2 separate regions of the Homo sapiens genome follow, and region 2 is linked to region 1. Evidence: promoter capture Hi-C in 16 types of primary human blood cells and fetal thymus (Javierre and others, 2016). All regions are on one chromosome and are shown on one strand. Each heading gives the region's core, a stretch centred on a gene start or on the middle of the fragment in contact. The rest is flanking DNA. Distances are from core to core; before and after follow the strand shown.

The links. Contacts are between HindIII fragments. The CHiCAGO score rates a contact against its expected background, and 5 or more counts as called.
Region 2: a fragment that was not itself captured here is called in contact with the fragment with the promoter of C5orf58 in region 1 in 1 of 17 cell types (non-activated CD4 T cells); the score reaches 5.1 in non-activated CD4 T cells.

The regions. Positions count from the first base shown.
Region 1 is chr5:170,229,373-170,234,527 of GRCh38, forward strand. It overlaps C5orf58 (chromosome 5 open reading frame 58), which reads left to right and starts at 3,613. Exons shown (of 4, transcript NM_001102609.3): 1 at 3,613-3,635; 2 at 4,743-4,826. The HindIII fragment of the contact is 4,262 bases long and covers 1,656-5,155 here.
Region 2 is chr5:170,310,146-170,315,421 of GRCh38, forward strand. LOC100128059 (a long non-coding RNA gene) reads right to left here and starts at 2,571. Exons shown (of 2, transcript NR_147701.1): 1 at 2,394-2,571; 2 at 1-559. RefSeq lists an enhancer at 2,491-2,540. The HindIII fragment of the contact is 5,220 bases long and covers 1,120-5,276 here.

The DNA.
Region 1 (5,155 bases), core at 2,363-4,862:
GTTTTGGGTAGAGAGTTGCCAGATTATCAAATAAAAATACAGGATTTCCCATTAAATTTGAATCTCAGATCAACAACGAATACATTTTGAGTATAAGTGGGGGCCATATAACATTCAGGACATACTTATACTAAAAAAAAAATCTGTTGTTTCTCTGGAACTCAAATTTAACTGGGTGTCCTATATTACATCTCATGACCCTGTTCAGAGGGAAATATTGATACAGAACTGTAATTTCTTAATTAGAAGTGAAAATGCTTCAGTTAACGTAGGAGCAATATGGATGTTCATTAATAACATCCTTCTATATTTCAGAAGTGTTTCTCCTAAAGAAAAAAAAATGACTCTGGATAATGTAACATCAGCTACTCGAAGAAGACAGTGGGCAGACACTGAAGCTTTTAGTTCACACCAGGGTAGCAGAAGTCAGCTTGCTTCTTGCTTCCTTTAAGTGATTGGCTTTGGTGAACGCAATAGTTGTTCGGGTACACAGGAATCTGCTTAATCTTTCAAATGCTGGTCATGCTCCCCAGGTAATGATCCAACACATGCTTATGTTGCTGCCTCCCAAATTAGTGCACACAGGGTTGTACAAAGTCAGGTTCAGGAGGGAGTTGATGCTCCAGCAGGGAGCTGGTCCCTAGACACAGAGGCCAGCACTCTTAATTGATAATGAACAGACAGGAGGAAAATGGGAACCCTGAGATCTAGTGGAAGAAGTAAGATAATTTACTCAATTTGTTTTCCTGGAAATGAAGACTTTATGTCAAGAATCTGTAATAAAATTAGCCGAGGTGCACACACTCAACTCCATAAAACGCTTGATCACCTTGCTGGTCTGCAGCACCTTTTTCTATTTATGGGAGCATTTACCAGTTTTTAAATCCCTTTTGTTTGATTAACATTAGAATCAACAACTGCAATCTGTGTTGGGTTCCAGTAAAGTGTTGTATTTTCACACTTATTAAAGAAGATAGATTTTGTTTTAGGGCCTTAGCTGTAAGTCTCTAACCCTGAGTAGCAAACCATGCTTTTAAACTTTCATTTTATTAGGGAAAAAAAAACACAAAGAGACAAAATCTATAGTTATTTAAGTAGAGAAAACAGTGCAATAAGTAGTCATCACTGCTCCAAGACAGTTTTATAGAGAGAAATGCATTACTAAACCTATCTTTTTCTGAGTTTTTAATCTCTTTTATTCCTCTTAGAACACTTATTTAAAAGGAACACAAAGTTGATTTTTCTTTGTGAATAACTAATGGCTTAATGATGATCTATTCCAAATAGCAGTAGTTTTGATATATTCATAAGAAGCAGTCAGCATTTTGGATGGATCCAAGGCCTTTAGATTCTGCCAAAAATCCTGTGGATTGCAATTCACAGGTAGTAGAGCTATGATAGCTCCTGCAAACAATTGAGGAACCCAAAAATGAGTTCAGTGTGCTTGGGACAATAGGACACTCCAGCCTACCAACCCCAGTGCCCATCATCACTTGATTTTCAGGATTCTCAGTCTTAATGCTATCTCCACCCACCTACTTCTCCTAAGCACCTTATTTACTCCTGTAGTTATCCACAGGGAGTTTCTAAAAGTGAAGAAGTTTTTACTTCTTCATCATCAAAATAAGTGAGGAGGAGAAAGGATACATCCTGTAAGCTTTCTGTCAAGATAGTCTTATTCTGAAGTTAAGACCCTCCTCCTTTTATTTTCTTCCTTCTGTTTTGATTTTAAATTATCCTTGCTTTTATAATACAATGAAGCCAGTTCTTTTTGCTTGGTTTTATACATTAATGTCCTAATTTAGAAATAAATGTTGCTTACCCTATGTTGGTCTCCCCGTATTTGTATTCCTCTTTTAACTCTTTCAGTCATTCTAATTATATCAAGAAGAAAGTCTTGGTTTGTGCTAGACTGTCTTTAACACTTCTCTAACACTTAATAAGAACCCATTTTAACAAAAAAGATCAGGCTGCAGAAAACACTGCAACTGGTTGCGAGCGTATATACATGATTAAAATATGCCTTATTTTCACTGTCTTTATTTTTCCAATGACTTTATGAGTTTTGTTTGTTTGTTTTGGGATGGAGTCTCACTCTGTCACCTGGACTAGAGTGCAGTGGTGCGATCTCGGCTCACTGCAACCTCTGCCTCCCGGGTTCAAGCGATTCTCCTGCCTCAGCCTCCTGAGTAGGTGAGGTTACAGGTGGCCACCACTACGTCCAGCTAATTTTTTGTATTTTTAGTAGAGACGAGGTTTCACCATGTTGGCCAGGCTGGTCTCGAACTCCTGACCTCGTGATTCACCCACCTCAGCCTCCCAAAGTGCTGGGATTACAGGCGAGCCACCGTGCCTGGCCTGACTTTACGTTTTATTCTATTTAACACTGGTGATATAAAGATTTTTAAGTAGACTTAAATTTTAAAAATAAGTAGATTTAAAATATGAAGGCAATAATATAGCTTCGTATTTTACAAAGCTGGTTATCATTAAAAACTTCTTCACCTTTAGAAACTCCCTGTAGTTAACCACAGGAGACAATAAGGTGTTTAGGAGAAGATAATAATAATATGAGTGCCATAAGCACAGAATCTTAACAGTGGCCCAGCAATTAGTACAATTTAGGAACTACTGGTTTAGCCCATCCCTCTCAATAGAAAACAGATAAGGAAACAGAGACTCAGAATAAGGAAGATATTCTTTTCTAAGATCATACAGCTGGTTATCATTAAGCTCTGTTCTCCTCTGTCCCTCCTCATCTAGGTAATTGCATTCGACAACAAATTCTGCAGTGTTAAAGTGAAGGAAATTGGATATAAAATACCCAACAATTGTGATGTGGGCTTTCAGGAAGGTGATGGTTCAAGAGGCTGGTGTGTACTATAGGGGAGGCATAGACGCAAAGACTTGTTGTATAGCACCTTGTGCTGAAAGCCTAAACTCCTCAATTTCTCAGGGCACCAAGAAAAATCTTTGGGCCTGCCTCAAAGGTTGCAGTGGCAGAGATTCCTCTGGAGTCAAGCAAAAGACGGCTCGAATCCCAGCTTCTCAGCTTGGCAAAAAACCATTTTCCATGTCTCAACTCATCTCTTTATTCATGCTACTCTTTACTATTATCATTCCTATAAAATGTTATAGGAAAAATAATAGCTAACAGTTATGGAGCACTTGGTATCTGCCAAGCACCTCTGATGAATTATCTCACTTAACCCTCAAACTAACACTGGAAGGCAGTTATTATCGTTCCATACGATAGGTGAGGACATCTGCACTCTGAATAGTTAATCGCTTATCTGCATCTATACAACTAAGCAGGTGATAGAATAGGATTCAAACCCAAGTGGCTTCATTCCAGAGTCTGCACTTAACGCTACCGCTATCCTGTGCGACTCAAATGCAGATAAGGGTTGCAAAAGCCTGGCACACTGGGGGTAAGGAATGTCAGTGCTTTTTCCGCCAACGTGGCCGCGCGAGTCAGTTGTAACCCGGCATCCAGAACCTTCTCCGTAGGGGCCTTGCCTGGGACTACAACTCCCAGGATGCCGCAGGCGGAGAAGCTGGCCAATCAGGGGGCGCGGCTTCGCCTTCACCGTCGGCTCCCTGCTCCTGTCAGAACCTCGGTGACGGTTGGCCAGGTGGGTAGTGACGGCTGCTCGGTCTTGAAGGATCCTAATCTGGTTTGGGAGGGTGAAGACCGCTGAAATTTCCAGGCTGCCCGAGGCTCCACCTTCCACCACCCAACGGGTGGGCGGTGGGCCGGGCTGGCCTCGGAGCCTCTCCCTGGGTGTCGGTTGGGCCGAGAAGGGGACGGTTGGCTGGGTGGGCCTGGCGGCTGGTGGCTGTCCGTAGGCCGGGGTCACTCTGAGGGCATTTTACATTACCCTAATCCTGTCCACTTGGCAAGAAACTTAGTAAGCCCCAAAGGTTCATTCCAAATCCTGTCTGGGAGGGCGAGGACTGTGGAAACTTCCAGATGCCTCAGGCTCCATCTTTAGCTGTTGAGCGGGTGGTTGGGCCGCTCATGGCCCCAAAGATCTGGGGGGTCTTCATGGGCAGTTGGGTCGCTGAGGGCCCTAAAGATCTGGGGCTCCTCCCAGGTGTCAGTTGGGCCAAGGAGGAGGCTGGGCTTTCAGAGTAGAACCTGCGGTGCTAACGATGGCTCTGCAGGGCTGCGGGCTGAGGGCCTGGGCGGCGTCCTGTGGCCCGGAGATGGCGCTCTAGTGGTATCAGGCCTTGAGTCAGCGACATCCTGGCTTCTGACCCCCCATTCCTATGGCCCCTACAGTCTGGTCTCCGCTTCCCCACTCCCGGTGAATTGCTGTTGGAGCAGCCTCTCCTTTCTGGGTAGTGGCCTGGCCGAGCTCCCCGGGGAGGGCTTGACCCAGACCTGTCCTGCCTCCAGTCCAGTCCCAGCTACATTGTTGTGTAGCACCCCACTGTGCCCTCACCCCACCCACGCGCTGGGTGCTCGAGGGCCTAGGAGAACCAGAGTGGAGAGAGGCCACTGTCTTGGGCTCTAAAATCATTTAGTTTCTACTTTACTATTTTTAAAAAACTTTTGCCTTGTTTTTGAAGTTCTTTAATTCCACCACTCCACCCCTTGTTAAAATATCATCTTTCTTTTTCCCTGCAACTTGACTCTTGGTTTGGCATGCCCAAGGAAGGCAGCTGACATCCTGGAGAATGGGGTCTTGGGGGTAGATGCAAAGCGCATTTTATTAATGTCTGGGAAACAAAATTAGTTTTTTTACAGTGGCTCTGAAATGAGAGAAATTGCAGAAATTCTCCCTGCTCAGGAAAAGGTAGAGGCAAGGATTGACTTAAAGGTTAGTTTGTTTTCATTATTTTGGACAAGCAGCTTGACCCATGACTGCCCACCTTTCACACTGCTGGAGTTGTGTATGCTAATTGAGATGGAGTTTTTCAAGTCATTTTGAGAGACTGAACAGCTTAAGACTAGTTTCTAGTGAACCACCTCTCTGTATATTTGTATCTGACACAATTGGTTAAATACAGGTACTGTATAACATAGGAATGCGTTGATTTATACATTTCAGTTAACCAAAATTAAAATGTCTGTTACTCTAACTCCCAAAACCAAACCAGCCATTTGCCATACTCTTAGTGGATTATAATTGAATTATCCTCTTAATGA
Region 2 (5,276 bases), core at 2,480-4,979, 81 kb after region 1:
GTTTGCTGCATGCATGAGGGCTCACATAAGGATGTGCTTTTTGTCCACTTTGTTCATTGCTGAATCACTAGCACTGACAGCTGTACCTGGCACAAACTGGGTGCTTAAGAAATATTCTTGAATCAAGGAATCAATAAATGAATGTTATAGAGAAAGCAGGAGAATAGATGATAATTGAGAAAACTGAAGCCCAGAGATGGGAAGTCACTGGCCCCATGTCACACAGCAGCAAATGCAGAACCGGTCCTGGAACTTCAGCCTCTCAGCCCCGGCCCTGTCCTCTCCTGTGCTTCTCACCACTTTATGTAAGTTTTTTCTTTATTTGTGGAGCTCTCAGCAGGCATTTTTCTCTCTGTGCTCAGTTGGCATTTTTCCCTTGAACCAGCTGTGTCTTCACTCTCTTCCCCATTTTCTCCAGAATATGTTCTTCTGTTTAACTGAATGTTCTCTTTTTCTGCAGGTCTGGCCCAACTGCAATATCCAGAGACTTTTCGGTGTCATATGAAAGAAAAGGAGCAGGAAGCCAAGATGCCCCACCTGGCTTCTACATCAGGGTGATCTGCATAGTAAGATGCAAAGACACTGACATATGCCTGGGGGTAACGAGGGCAGTGGGGGGAGGGAGCTAAGCCAAGATAAGCCTCCTCCCCACCAAACATAGGTGCTACTGAGCAATGATAGGGGGCATGCTGTCTGCTCTGGTACTTGCGTAGGGAATGCTCTGAGAAACCTCACTAAATCTGCCCTCTAGAGTAGAGCAACCTGGGAGCTCAGGCTTCCCTTTCCTCTGTGTGATGGGTTGGCGGTCCTTAGAGCCAGCCATTTCGTCCTGCTCCTTCTCTCCTCCCCTTCCTGACCAATAAAGATTGTGTGCTTCTGCCCAGTCAGCAGGGTGGGCTCTCACTCCATCCTGCCTCTGGTATGACAGCACAATTCCCCTCATTCTTTATAATCATTATAAAATAAAATAACTACCTTTTAGAATACTTATTTGATATGAGGCACTTTGCAAACCCACAGTCCTGCATATCCCATTTGACATATCAGGATGCTGGGCTTACAGGTTACCCCAGGGGTGGAGTTGGGCTCAATCCTAGGATTGTCTGCATCTGATTCTGAAGCTTGTTTTCTTTTCCCCTATACACAATCATTCATTCATTCATTCAGTAATTTTTAAATTGAGACATACTATGTACCAGCACCTGTTCTAAGCATTGGATTATGGTGATGAATGAGGCAGACAGGGTCCTTCCCACAAATAACTAACTCTATTCAAGCAGTGGGAGAAAAAGCAATGAATGGGAAATAAATGCACAAATCAAGTAATGTTGGATGGGACAACTGCTGTGGTCCCATTGAAACAAGCCCAGAGTGAGCCCAGTGTAGGGACTTCTTCATTGACTGGTTGGGAATTGAGTGACAATCGGTTGCTGCATGCTGATGGGTGCCAAATACAACCGTAAGGAAACACTCCCCTGGGAGGGAGGCGGGATCCAGGTTAGGAAAGAGCCTTGGATTGAGGCAGAGTGTCAGGAAGTGGGGAGGTACGCAGCTGACCTTGGAGAAAATCCCTGAGTGGTGCAGATCTCTTGAATCTCTGAGTGGCTCAGAGTCTTCCTGGAAATGCAGAAATCCCCATGCCACTTAGGGGCATCTTCATTCATCTCCAGCCCTCCTTTATTAAGTCATGTATACCATCTCCTCTCTTATGCTTAATGTCATGCCACTCTTCAATCCTTGTCCCTTCTTTCCCTCTGTGCCTGCTTGTGGTTTACTCCTGCTGACACCAAAGGCTGAGGAGGATGAAAGAACAATTCCAGCCCTGACAGACAGCAGTAGCAGCAACTACCTCTGGCTTCTCCTGGGGACTTTGCCAAGCCACACCTCTGTCTCTCCCTCCGCTGTCCCTCTGCAGCTGGTTCTTCCTCCCGCTGCACCCTCTCCACCCCTACCCACAGTCTCACACCCAGATTCTCCCTCTCTGCCCAGCCACCTTCAGATTGGAGGCTTGGTCAGACCTGACGCCTGGCTTTGAGTTTGCTTACCCTCCCTCCCCTGGGCTCCTGGATTCCAGATAGAATCTGGCTCTTCTCAGATTCTATCTGGTCAACTGACCAGGGTTCTGGGGCCCCACAATAGGACTCAGGGCCCTCAGACCCTATTGATCTGGTAAGTGACTGCAGAATCACCCTTATTCGTGAGCCACGAATGGAAGATTGCGAAAAGGCATCTTCCAGCATTATCCTGTTCCTTCTATGAGATTGTGCCAACGACCACTCCCTACTTCTCTTTTCTATCAATGCTGAGCATTATGTCCTTTGGAAAACTTCTCAGAACCTCCAAATATGGGTGAAGTGTCCCTCCTAAGTGCTTCCAGGGTGTGCTGTGCTTACCTTTCATATAGCACCATCTACACATGGCCATCTCGCTGCTCAGCTCTCCTACTAGAATATGGTCTCCTTGAAGGCAGGTCAGCGTGGTATCTCCATGATTAACAGGGTGCCTGGCACAAATGAATAAATGAGGCCGCTGCAGCCCTCCTGCCATGGACCCTGGGAAAGCAGAACACATGTTCATTTCCTTTTCTGACTCTCTAGGGCGTGAGAATCCTTCCAGATTGGGTGACTCTTCAACTTCCTCTTGGGGATCTGTAGGTGCAGCAAGGGTTGGAGAATCAGAAGCGCATGTGTTGAGAGCACCCTAGGATTGCTCAGTGACAAGCAGGGAAACCAGACTCCCTGTGACATCATCACTTTGGGGCATGCATGGCCTGGGGATTTCTGCATTTCCAGGAAGACTCTAAGACAGCCCTGTTTAGGATGTAGTGAATCACTAGCACTGTCTGGAGCTCTGAACTGCAGCAGAAGGCTGAGGTCTGTGAGACAGCCAGAAGAAGTGGGTGGGGGGAAGATGGTTTCATATAGATGCACCATCCAAATCCCTTCAAGTTGTCTGTGACCAACATTTCTTACTTTGAACAAAGTTATGGATTTTTTTCTACCTGTAAAAGTAAAACAGAGTCATCATGGAAACATAAATAAAATACAGGCAAGAAAAGGAATAATGAACATTAGACACTTAAAATGTTGGTATTTCCTTTCTTCAAGTAAAAAAATCTTTCTCACTGTCAAAATGAGAGTACCATCTTCATAGAATTCTTTATAACCTCTGTTAAAGGAAAACTTTAAATTTCCAAATTAAATTTAACAGAGTTTATTTGAGCAAAGAATGATTCACGAATCCACAGCACTCAGAACCAGAAGAGGTTCCGGGAGCCCAGGAGCATGAGCACTGAGCTTTTATAGGCTGAACATGGAAACAAAGCAGATAAATCACCTGATTGGCTACAGCTAGACATCTGTCTTATTTGGGCCTGGTGCGATGAATTGGTTGTCCGTGATTGGCTGAAACTCAGCTGTTTGTGATTGGCTGAAACCAGCTATTTGTTACCAAAAGTATTCTCCTAAGTTTCAGTTTGTTTATATACTAAGTTAGGGTGTAATTTGTTATGGAGGAATTCAAAGTGCGGAGGCTTCCTGCTTGTTTCATTTAATACCTCTTTGTGGTTTTTTAAATCCGTTTTCATATATGCAACATATTATGAATAGCTTTCCATGTGGCTGAATGTCATCTCAAAGCAGCTTTGAAACGGCTGCAGAGTGCTCCATGGTATGCAGGTACTAGAATTTATTTCAGTAATTCCCTATGGTTTAGATTGGTTCGAAATTTCATTATTATAACCCAGAAATGAGCATTCTTTTAGCTGACCCACTGCACACAGCCATGATTACTTCTTTAGGATAAATTGCCAGATGTCAGTTTGCTAGCTCAAGGATAGGAACTTCTGTAATTTTGCTACATCCCACTCCACTGTTCTCCACACAGTTTTCATTTTGGCTTCTGCCAGTTGGCCATGAGGGTATGTGTTGTCATTTTGTGACATTTCCTCGTGTCACAGCTGCCTTAGTGTCCTCTTAACCTGTTTTCCATGAAATGATGGATGGCAGGCCATGCAATTGGCTCCATTACCCACCTGAGAGAAGCCCCAGAGAAACCTCAATAAATCTGGCTCATACCAGGGGTGGCCAGTGTGAATATCAGTAGGACAGAACAATAAATGAAGAAATCCCATGCTGATCCTATTATACACAGCACAGAGATTAATAGACTCTGGGATCACACAGACCTTGATTTGAATACTGACCTTGACTTGGGCAAGATCTTGCTGAACCTCAGTTTTCTCAGCTGTGAAATGGAATCATACTGTCCCATCCTGATGAGGTTTAAATTGAATCGGGTGTCAAAAACTTATAGCATAGAGCAGGTACCCAGTGGGCCCTTGGGACACATTAGCCAGAATTGTTACTAAATAGGCACAATAATTTGAGCCAATGTAACAAACCTTTTGTTTAGTTGGGGTCCTTAAGAGACCTGTTAAACTGCTAAGAATGATTTCTAGCCAGTGTAACAATTGTGCCCAGGGGAAGAGATCCCCATATGAGTTAATTTCCTTAAATGTTTGCTATATTCTATGTTTCATAATTCAGTGTTTCTTAACATTCCCTGTGAAATTTTATTTGGTGTAACAGGGCTTATTTTCACAGAGCTTGTCCTACCAAGCCTTCTCTACGGCAAGGGAAAGGCAAACCCAGGCTTAGCCACCAGGGCAGAGGTTCCCTGGCTGGTGAGCTTAGGGAAAACACAAATCCTGGGGCTTCACTGAGTCCCCCTGGCTCAGATCTCCAGGCCACCCTGGGGATCCCAGGTGTCCGCACCATTAACAGACTCCTCAGGTAATTCTTAAGCTGGCTGGGCCTAAAACTGCAAACTGGTATTGGGCATGCCAGAAGGTAACCATAAATGGGCTATTTGGAGATTTCTAGGAAGAAGAATGACATTTTGTTTCATTCCATTCCATTTCATTTCATTCCATTAATACTAAAAATATTAACTAAAGCATCATTTCTACTATATATCCAGAAGAGAACATGGTCTTAGGTCTTTTAATAAATGAACTTCAGTTGCAAACTTTCTGCTGTGACGTTATATTTCTCTTTCCACCCTAGACCAGCCCCTAATGGGGCCATGAAGTCAGATTTTTGGTTCATGGTGTTGTCGGGGCAGCATAGCCCAGAATTCCACTTCCTTCCCTGAGGACACATTTATTCTGGTAGATGTGCTGTTTTCCATTTAAATGTCCTTTGGCAATAAAAGAGCTGGCTCCAACAGCAGACCACGGGGCTGGCTTTGTCGGCAGACACCACGTGTTCATGACT